Regions from separate parts of the Homo sapiens genome. Here region 2 is linked to region 1. Evidence: promoter capture Hi-C in 16 types of primary human blood cells and fetal thymus (Javierre and others, 2016). All regions are on one chromosome and are shown on one strand. Each heading gives the region's core, a stretch centred on a gene start or on the middle of the fragment in contact. The rest is flanking DNA. Distances are from core to core; before and after follow the strand shown.

Region 1 (5,332 bases), core at 2,351-4,850:
AGAAGAAGAAGAAGAAACACCAGAGATCTTTCTCTGGATGCACAGAGAAGAGGCCACGAAGGGACATGGCAAAAAGTGTCCCTACAAGCCAGGAAGAGAGGTCCCACCCGACACTAACCCTGACTGCACCTTGATCTTAGACTTCCAGCATCTGGAACTGTGAGAAAATTAATTTCTGTTGTTGCAGCCACCCAGTCTGTGTATTCTGTTATTGCAGCCCTTGCTGGCTAATACCCTGGCTGAGCCTGCTTTCCCCTGAGGTATGATTCATGATAGTCCCAGCTCATAGGCCCCATCCTATGGGTTGTTCTGAGAGGAGCCACATAAGAAGCTGAGGACAGTGCCTGGCACATGGCAACAGTTTGATGATTTCAGTTATTATCGTGAATACCAATGTGTGGTTTTCTTCCCTAGTCAGCTGGGCATGACAGTCCCATCTCTCACATGGTAGGCAGGAGGCTGAAATGAGACCTGTGCTTCTTAAGCCTTCCCTGATGACAGAAGAGAGTGCACACCTGCCTGGGAACAGGGGTACAAGAAAGGTCTGCTGGAATACTTTTTTTTTTTTTTTTTTGAGACAGAATCTTGCTGTGTCGCCCAGGCTGGAGTGCAATGGCTCGATCTCGGCTCACTGCAACCTCCACCTCCCAGGTTCAAGCGATGCCTCCTCTCCTGTCGCAGCCTCTCGAGTAGCTGGGATTACAGGCGCCCGCCACCACACCCAGCTCATTTTTGTATTTTTAGTAGAGATGTGGTTTCACCATGTTGGGCAGGCTGGTCTCGAACTCCTGACCTCAAGTGATCCACCCACCTTGGCCTCCCAAAGTGTTGGGGTTATGGGCGTGAGCCACTGTGCCCAGCCTGGAATACTTGAAGTCTCATGTTTTATCTTAAAAATGCATGCAGATTTTTCATTCTGATTCATAAACGGTTGTGTTTGCAATTATTTATCAGAGTAGAGAACTGAGGAGCCAGACAGTTAAACTGATCTTGTGTGCCCAGCCACAAGACCACTTTACTTGAGATGGCCTTTGTAAGTCACCAAGAACTGATCTGAGTATACTTAGTACTATTCTCAAACTGATTACTTGTACAGCAATGTTGATTTTTAAAAAGAGAATACTACTAAGTATTGCTGTACAAGTAATCAATTCGAGGTGCACTATAAAGTGTGTTGTATTTTACTAATTAAACCACTGTTGGAGCTCCTCACTGTGCACTATGTGCCAGGTGCAGTGTCAGCAGATTGATCACAATAGATCCACTCCTTGCCTTCCTGAAGCTTACTTCTGGGTAGGGAGGCCGACACTAAAGAGTCAGATAACTATGTCTATAAAGTTGTGACAAGAGGTGTAAAGAAAGATAGCAGGCTAGAAAAGCCTGCAGGGAGAGAGCAGGTCAGAGCCCTCCTAGGCTCTCAGCACCAAGGGATTCCTGGGAAGTCTGACTTCCTAGGAAGAGTGCTCTGGAGGCAGCCTTCTGACGTGGAGGTTGTTGGTTACCAAGCATTTAAAGTGAAGTGAACTATTGTCACTCTGTCTTAGGATGACACAGTGCACTTTCCACAGGCCTGGGTAGGCCTAGGTATGGATTTTTGTACTGGAGATCAGACAGGTTGGTATTTAAAAACTGGTGGGGAGTGGGGGTGGTGGAGAGGTTGGGGAGGTGGCGGGCGACTAGGAGTGTGAAGGGGAGGGGGGATGGTGGTATTTGCTTTAGACGCATTATGCAGGAGGTGGGAACAGCAGGACTGAGGGGTGTGAGAGGTGCCTCTTCTCTCTGTTTTTCCTCCCTGATGTACACTCTTCACACTTGCCTAGAAATCAGTTAACAGGTGAGAACTGCTTTACAAATCTAGGCCTCAGTTGCTAAAGAACCAAACAGAAGCCCACTCTCTTTCCTGCCTGCCCTTCCCAGTCCCTGAAGGAGAAGGTGAATGCAGTATTCTCTGTTGGGGAGGGGCAAGTGAGGAGGTTGAACTGGAAGCCAGGAGTCCCCTCTGGCCCTCTGAGCTCGCCAAGCCTGACTTTCCGTTTAACAGGAGTAAGGGAGGTTACCCCACACCTGCTCCCGGCTCATCCCTGCCCCAGTGCCTGCTAATTGCTCCCATGCCCCTGTTCCCTTCTTTTTTTCCTCCCTTCGGGGGCTCAGCACAGCAAACAGGCAGATGGGGGAGAGGTGTGAGATTATCGTGGGGAGGGGAATGAATTTTCCATTATTAATAACAGCAACAACAACAACACTTCGCCTGTTGGCACAGCACTCACTAGTTTATCTAGTGCCGTCACACCTGTGATCTCTTTGGATCCCAGAGGTGCAGACTGAAACCCTGGGGTTCTGATTCCCAGCCTCTGACACTGTTCACATGTCCAAGCAGGCCACTTCTTTACAGACACACACATGCCCATCTGGCCATTGCCAAAGGCCATGTCTAGACCTTTACTTAAAATGTGCGCTGCCGGGCGCGGTGGCTCACGCCCGTAATCCCAGCACTTTGAGAGGCCGGGGCCGGCTGATCACCTGAGGTCAGGAGCTCCAGACCAGCCTGGCCAATATGGTGAAACCCCGTCTCTGTTAAAAATACAAAAATTAGCCGGGTGTGGTGGCGCATGCCTCTAATCCCAGCTATTCGGGAGGCTGAGGTAGGAGAATCGCTTGAACCCGGGAGGCGGAGGTTGCAGTGAGCCAAGATCGCGCCACTTCACTCCAGCCTGGGCAACAAGAGCGAAACTCCGTCTCAAACAAAACAAAACAAACAGAAAAAAATGTGCGCTAGCCCCCTACGAATGCTGCCCTCTCGGCTTATGTCAATCTCAATTTCAGTAAGTCCCCTCCACTTCTGTGAAACGTCTACCAAATACACTGGAAAAGGGTCGGCAAGGTGCCTTGGAGACCATCTAGTCCAACTTTGTCGCTGGTCCAGAGAGAAGGGCTGGGCCGAGGACACAGCTGGTGCGGGATAGAACCACCCCCGCCTCCTCCCTCCCTGGCGCACACATGCATGCACACGCGCGCCTGCTCACGGCGCTCCTCCTTCTCGCAATGCCCTAGGCAGCTGCAAACTTCGGTCCCCTAGAGCTTCTCCCTAGGGGCTGCCCACAGCGGGTGTTTCGGGAGTTGAACCTGTACACCTTGTTTTCCCCTTTAGAGTGGAATGAGGTGGGAGGAGCTCGCTGTCCTCCGGAAACTAGAGGGGGATCTTTTATGAAGTTACAAATCGTTAGCCTATGAAAACTCTGATTTCACACACGAGAGGCGAGTTGGCCCCAGGACACGGGCGTTGACACGCACCGGGTTGTCCCGGCAGCCGAAGGCACCTTTGCATAAGCGCCGCGTCTCCCAGTCCCCTCCGAGCGTTCCTCAGCCCCCGCCCCACCGCCCGCCTCTCTCCCTCCTCCTCTCCGGCTTCAGATCGTCCAGTCTCCCTTTCCCGCCCGGCGCCGCAACAAGTGCGGGCGTCGCGGCCCCTCTTACCCTGGCCTCGGTCCATGGCGCCGGCCCGGTCCCCGGGGAGCGGGCCGCAGGGCGCAGGGGCTCCGGCGCGGCTGGTAGCGGCCGGCGCGCTGCGCTCTCAGGCCAGCCCAGCGGCCGGCGCTCTCTGCGGTCCCCTCCCCCAGACAGGATGCTCGCCGGCAGCCCCCGCCCCGCCCGCGCCCGCGCCCGCCCCTCAGAGCCGCTCCCGGAATAGACCCGAGCACGCCTCGCCCCCTGGGCCGCAGCCCGCTGTCCCGTGGTGCCGCACACGCCCCGCCGCGCCCTGCCGCTCGCTCGCCCTCCGCGGCGCTCCCACTTGGGCTTGGAGGACCCTTTTCCCCGTCCGCACGCGTTCGTTCCCGCGCCCGCGCGGCCTGCCCCAGCCCGGACCCAGGAGGTGTGCGGCTTTGCTTGCACTCCGCTAGCGATGGGGTCTTACCACCGCACCCCTCAGCCGGCTCCATGCCGGAATGCGGAGACTGTTGGAGCGCGTTTTTATCCTAGGGAATCAAAACCCCCTTCCCTGCAGCCGCCACCCATTTCCTGGCTTTGGGCTTGTCTTCTCCATTCGCCGCGGGTCTTTCTTGAGCACCTTCTAAGCCAGACAGTGGGCCCGCGGCGATGCCGGTGCAATGTCAGTGGTGTTGCGAAAGAGGAGTTAAATAATAACAAAGATCTTCAGAAAGAAAAGCACCTGGGAAAGGGAGAAAGAGAGGCTTGCTGAAAGGTGGGCAAGGGCTTGGGACACTTTCAACTTTTGAGGTTCCTTGTGTACTAAAACGTGAAAACATAACGAGGATCTGGGAGAATTCAGAAAAAGAATAGAAAAATGAGTAACACGTGAAAACATGCAGAACAGGGTGATAAAAAATGTGGAAATGAATACTTTTAGCATACAAAATACAGTGCAATATAAGTGTACTTTTCGCAAGATTGTAGAAAATATTGCTATGACCAGTGTGGAACAGTAATGGGATCTAAGTTTAAAGCTGTATGAAGAATGTCAACTTCTTCACCTTATTAGTATATCCCTGTGAAAATAGGTCTCACTCATTTATACACAATATCAAATGTCTGACTTTAAGACCCTTCATAAAGTCCAGGACCAATTGTTCTCCTAGACACTGCTCCTCCCACCATGGGCCAGGCCATGGTTTTCAGCTTTGAGCTGACCACTGTTCCCTACTTAGAACATTCTGGAACAGGGAACAGCTACCACAGAGGTATGGAGGCAACAAAAGGCCTGGGAAAGACCCTCCTGTACTTTCCTGGACTGGGAATATTTTCTTTTCTTCTTTTTTTTTTTTCTTGAAAAGTCTCCCTTTGTCGCCGAGGCTGGAGTGCAGTGGCGCGATCTCGGCTCACTGCAACCTCTGCCTCCCGGGTTCAAGCAATTCTCCTGCCTCAGCCTCCTGAGTAGCTGGAATTACAGGCGCCCACCATCACTCCGGGCAAATTTTTGTATTTTTAGTAGAGACGACGTTTCGCCATGTTGGCCAGGCTGGTCTCGAACTCCTGACCTCAGGTGATCCACCTGCCTCGGCCTCCCAAAGTGCTGGGATTACAGGCGCCAGCCACCTAGCCTGGCCGGGAATATTTTCTCTATTGCTTTTATGGGCAAATTAAAATTAACATTTTCTTAAAATATTGCATCAGTAATTTAGTGTGTGTGTGTGTGAGCACTCAGACCAAATGTGATGTTGTGAACAGTGTATGAAAACTTGTGCATGGCTCTTGTTCTGTTAGTTTGGTGCAAAAGTAATAGTGGTTTTTGCCACTGAAAGTAATGGCAAAAAACGCTATTACTTTTGCTCCAATCTAAATACTACATAGTATAATAACTTTTCGTCAATGAGGT
Region 2 (5,309 bases), core at 2,411-4,910, 520 kb after region 1:
AAATCAATTCAAAATGGGTTAACTACTTAAATGTAACACCTAAAAACATAAAACTTCTAGAAGAAAACACAGAGGAAAAACTTCTAGATATCAATCTTGGCAATAATTTCTTGAATATGACACCAAATACACAGGGAACAAAAGCAGTATTAGACAATTGGGATTACATCACCCTGAAAAGCTTATGTGCAGCAAAGGAAACAATTAACAAATTGTTAACGAATTGTTAAATGTAGCCTACAGATGGGAGAAAATATTTGCAAGCCATATATCTGATAAAGAGTTAATGTCAAAAATATATAAGGAACTCCTGCAACTCAATAGCAACAAACAAAAAAATAATAAAAATAACTCATTTAAAAATTGGACAAAGGGCCTGAATAGACATTTCTCCAGAGAAGGCATACAAATTGCCAACAGGTATATGAAAATATTTCCAACATTGCTAATCAGGGACATGTAAATCAAAGCCACAATAAGATATCACCTCAAACTAGTTAGGACAACTATTTTCAGAAAACCAACAGATAACAAATGTTGGTGAGGATGTGTAATAGACAATAAAGAACCTTGTACAATGTTCTCAAAGCCACTATGTAAAACAGTATAAACTTTTCTTTAAAAATGAAAAATGAAAATACCATTATTATCTAGCAATCCCACTTTAGGGTATGCATCCAAAGGATTTGAAATCAAGATCTTGAAGAGATATCTGCACTCCCATGTTCATTCCATTATTATTCACAACAGCCAACACATGAAAGCAACCTAAGAGTCCATCAACAAATGTATGAATAAAGAAAATGTGACATTCCATGCTCATGGATAGGAAGAATCAATATCGTGAAAATGGCCACACTGCCCAAAGTAATTTATAGATTCAATACTATCCCCATCAAGCTACCACTGACTTTCTTCAAAGAAGTGGAAAAAACTACTTTAAATTTCATATGGAACCAAAAAAGAGCCCACATAGCCAAGACAATCCTAAGCAAAAAGAACAAAGCTGGAGGCATCACGCTACATGACTTCAAACTATACTACAAGCCTACAGTAACCAAAACAGCATGGTACTGGTACCAAAACAGATATATAGACCAATGGAACAGAACAGAGCCTCAGAAATAATACCACACATCTACAACCATCTGATTTTTTGACAAACCTGACAAAAACAAGAAATGGGGAAAGGATTCCATATTTAATAAATGGTGTTGGGAAAACTGGCTAGCCATATGCAGAAGGCTGAAACTGGATCCCTTCCTTACACCTTATACAAAAATTAACTCAAGATGGATTAAATACTTAAACATAAGACCTAAAATCATAAAAACCCTAGAAGAAAATCTAGGCAATAGCATTCAGGACATAGGAATGGGCAAAGACTTCATGACTAAAAAACCAAAAGCAATGGCAACAAAAGCCAAGATTGACAAATGGGATCCGGTTAAACTAAAGAGCTTCTGCACAGCAAAATAAACTATTATCAGAGCGAACAGGCAACCTACAGAATGGGAGAACATTTTTGCAATCTACCCATCTGACAAAGGGCTAATATCCAGAATCTACAAAGAACTTAAACAAATTTACACACACACACACACACACACACACATACACACACACACAAACAATCCCATCAAAAAGTGGGTGAAGGATGTGAACAGACACTTCTCAAAAAAAGACATTTATACAGCCAACAAACATATGAAAAAAAGCTCATCATCACTTGGTCATTAGAGAAATGCAAATCAAAACCACAGTGAGATACCATCTCATGCCAGTTAGAATGGCCATCATTAAAAAGTCAGGAAACAACAGATGCTGGAGAGGATGTGGAGAAATAGGAATGCTTTTACACTGTTGGTGGGAGTGTAAATTAGTTCAACCATTGTGGAAGACAGTGTGGTGATTCCTCAAGGATCTAGAACCAGAAATACCATTTTACCCAGCAATCCCATTACTGGGTGTATACCCATAGGATTATAAATCATTCTACTATAAAGACACATGCACACATATGTTTATTGTGGCACTGTTCACAATAGCAAAGACTTGGAACCAACCCAAATGCCCCTTAATGATAGACTGGATAAAGAAAATGTGGCACATATACACCATGGAATACTATGCAGCCATAAAAAAGGAGGAGTTCATGTCCTTTGCAGGGACATGGATGATGCTGGAAGCCATCATTCTCATTAAATTAACACAGGAGCAGAAAACCAAATACCACATGTTCTCACTCATAAGCAGGAGCTGATCAGTGAGAATACATGGACACAGAGAGGGGAACATCACACACTGGGGCCTGTTGGGGGGTGGGGGGCTAGGAGAGGGATAGCATTAGGAGAAATACCTAATGTAGATGACGGGTTGATGGGTGCAGCAAACCACCATGGCACATGTATACTTATGTAACAAACCTGCACGTTCTGCACATGAACCCCAGAACTTAAAGTATAATAAAAAATGTATGTAAAAAAAAGAAAATGTGATGTATGTATACAATGGGATATTATTCAGCCTTAAAATGGAAAGGAAATCCTGCCATTTGCAAACATATGGATGTACTTGGAGGATATTATGCTAAGTATTATAAGCCAGACACAGAATGACAAACACAACATGACACTATTTATACAACAAATATAAAATAGTCAAACTCTTAGAAGCAGACAATGAATGGTGGTTGCCAGGGACTGAGGAGAGGACATATTAGAAGGTGTTAGTTGAAAGTTTCAAAGGTTTGGTGATACATAATGAATAAGTTCTAAAGGTTTACTGCACGACATAGTGCTTATAGTTAACAATACTGTATAGTATACTTAAAAATTTGCTGAATGGGTAGATGTTATATGAAGTGAGCTTATCACATACACACACACATACATACAAATAATATATAAGAGGAGAGGGGAAAAATTTTGCTTTATATTTATCTCCAAACTCGTCAAGTTGTACATATTAAATATGTGTAGCTTTTTGCATGTCAATCCTACCTTAATAAAGTGGCTTAAAAGAGGAAGAGTATTATAAGGTTCAAACCACAAGAAGAAAGCCAGAAGAAAGCAGGTAGTCCTGGGAGAGACACTATACCACTGTGGTTTTCAAGTCTGAGACACTGACCAGCCCCTTTAAGAAAAAAGAAATTTCTCATAGTCCCCATCATTGATATGTCCCTTTTATTATAATGTTATTTACACATACACAAACATAAAAGTAGGAATAAATCATTCATTTTATAGTTGTATATAACCAAAGTAGCAAAATAACTTTTTAGTTAAATGTACTATGAATAAAATTATAAAACAACTAAAATTTAAGTGGCCAAATTAATTGTGATGGATAATCTCACATGGCTAAAAGGAATTCTCTGCTCACATCTAGTCTAGCGAGGTTCTTTGGAGTTTGACTTGTCTATTCACTCTTGAGCCTCAGTTCTTTCATCACACTTTCTCTGTGGGCATTGTTGCAAAGCTTTAGTCCCACGAAGATCCATGATGTCATCTGACTTTCACATGATGCAAGTGTATCACTTTTTCATTAAGATTGCCTCCTTTTTCTTCATTAACTCATGACAACTGAGTACTATTACTTGGATACAATTTGTTTGCAAATACAACAAATACAAACACTGAAATCTCATAAGGTAGTCATGCAGGTAACCCAAGCATGAGAAACATTTGAATGATAAATTCAAATGCAAAATTGTAGCATTATCATAGGATGCCTAAGAATTTGTGGATATCTGAGGCTGCACTGAGAAGCACTAGTGCTATAGAAAGATTTACTGTGCCTACAGCCTCTTTCTAAGGGAGCTGACGTTTCTAAGCTTCTGCTGCTCAAGTGGCTATATCCTGTGCCTTATCACCCATTGGCCTTTCCCCATCTCTGCACTCTGGCCTCGCATTCTGGCCACTGTGGGTTGGGGCAGGAAGGGGGTGTGCACTTGAACCATGAGCGTGGAATCCACTGGCTGGCTAGTGGCCAGAAATTTTTAGAGGCAAAAAAAGAAGTTGGAAACATTTCCACCCTCTCACTTTTCTCCCCAAAATATGGAGGAAAGTTACCAATCGACAACACACACGAATGCAGAAAGGTGATGCCAAATAACAGCTAGAGAGCTATGTCACTCATAAGTAAAGTGAAGTTATGGGGCCATGGACACCGTAACCATTTTGAATCACTCTTCGGTTTTAGACGCCTATAAACCCAGCTCAAGTTAATGTCAGAAAAAAAAAAAAAAAAAAGGCTGGGCGCGGTGGCTCATGCCTGTAATCACAGCAGTTTGGGAGGCCGAGGTGGGCGGATCATGAGGTCAGGAGATCGAGACCATCCTGGCTAACACGGTGAAACCCCTTCTCTACTGAAAATACAAAAAATTAGCCAGGCATGGTGGTGGGCGTCTGTAGTCCCAGCTACTCGGGAGGCTGAGGCAGGAGAATGGTGTGAACCCGGGAGGCGGAGCTTGCAGTGAGCCAAGATTGCACCACTGCACTCCAGCCTGGGCGACAGAGGAAGACTCCATCTCAAAAAAAAAAAAAAAAAAAAAAAAGGAAATGTAGGCCCAGTGCCGTGGCTCACGCCTGTAATCTCAGCACTTTGGGAGGCTGAGGTGAGTGGATCACCTGAGGTTGGGAGTTCAAGACCAGCCTGGCCAACATGGTGAAACTCCATCTCTACTAATAATACAAAATTAGCCAGATATGGTGGTGCATGCCTGTAATCCCAGCTACTCGGGAGGCTGAGGCAGGCAAATTGCTTGAACTGGGGAGGCAGAGGTTGCAGTGAGCCAAGTTCATGCCATTGTACTCCAGCCTGGGCAACAAGAGTGAAACTCCGTCTCGAAAAATATATAAATAAATAAAAATAAAAAAGGAAATGTAATTGCTCCAAGATGGGAAAATCAATGATTTCATCTGAACCAAGCCTTTCTCTTTCTACTAGTTCTATTATCCTATATGTTTACTTTATTCCAAGACATCACGTGAGGGTAAGAAGGAAAGTGGGCACATCACTCTACCAATAAATAAAAGTCTTGCATCTCGTTAGCTCTAACCAAGTCTATGGGCCCATCCCTAAAGAAATTTGTGAGACCTAAAGAGTTTAAGGCTCTGATTCACATGCCCCATCCTTAGAGTAATCAATTATGTTGTTACATCTTCTATAAGCACATGGACTCAAAACAAGAGCAGATGTTCCCCAGACGTGAACTTGGAGAAGGGTAAAGGGGCATTTGGCAGCTGGGTAAAGGGGCATTTGGCAGCAACAGCATCACATATCCACTACACATCCCTGTAGGTCCC

The links. Contacts are between HindIII fragments. The CHiCAGO score rates a contact against its expected background, and 5 or more counts as called.
Region 2: a fragment that was not itself captured here is called in contact with the fragment with the promoter of AFAP1L1 in region 1 in 2 of 17 cell types (M1 macrophages and M0 macrophages); the score reaches 5.4 in M1 macrophages.

The regions. Positions count from the first base shown.
Region 1 is chr5:149,270,127-149,275,458 of GRCh38, reverse strand. It overlaps AFAP1L1 (actin filament associated protein 1 like 1), which reads right to left and starts at 3,600. Exons shown (of 19, transcript NM_152406.4): 1 at 3,475-3,600. The coding sequence starts at 3,490. RefSeq lists enhancers at 2,000-2,539, 2,540-3,081, 3,082-3,621. The HindIII fragment of the contact is 5,831 bases long and covers 1,285-5,332 here.
Region 2 is chr5:148,749,407-148,754,715 of GRCh38, reverse strand. No RefSeq gene overlaps it. Among named protein-coding and RNA genes, the nearest start is that of ADRB2, 75 kb to the left of the region's middle. The HindIII fragment of the contact is 355 bases long and covers 3,483-3,837 here.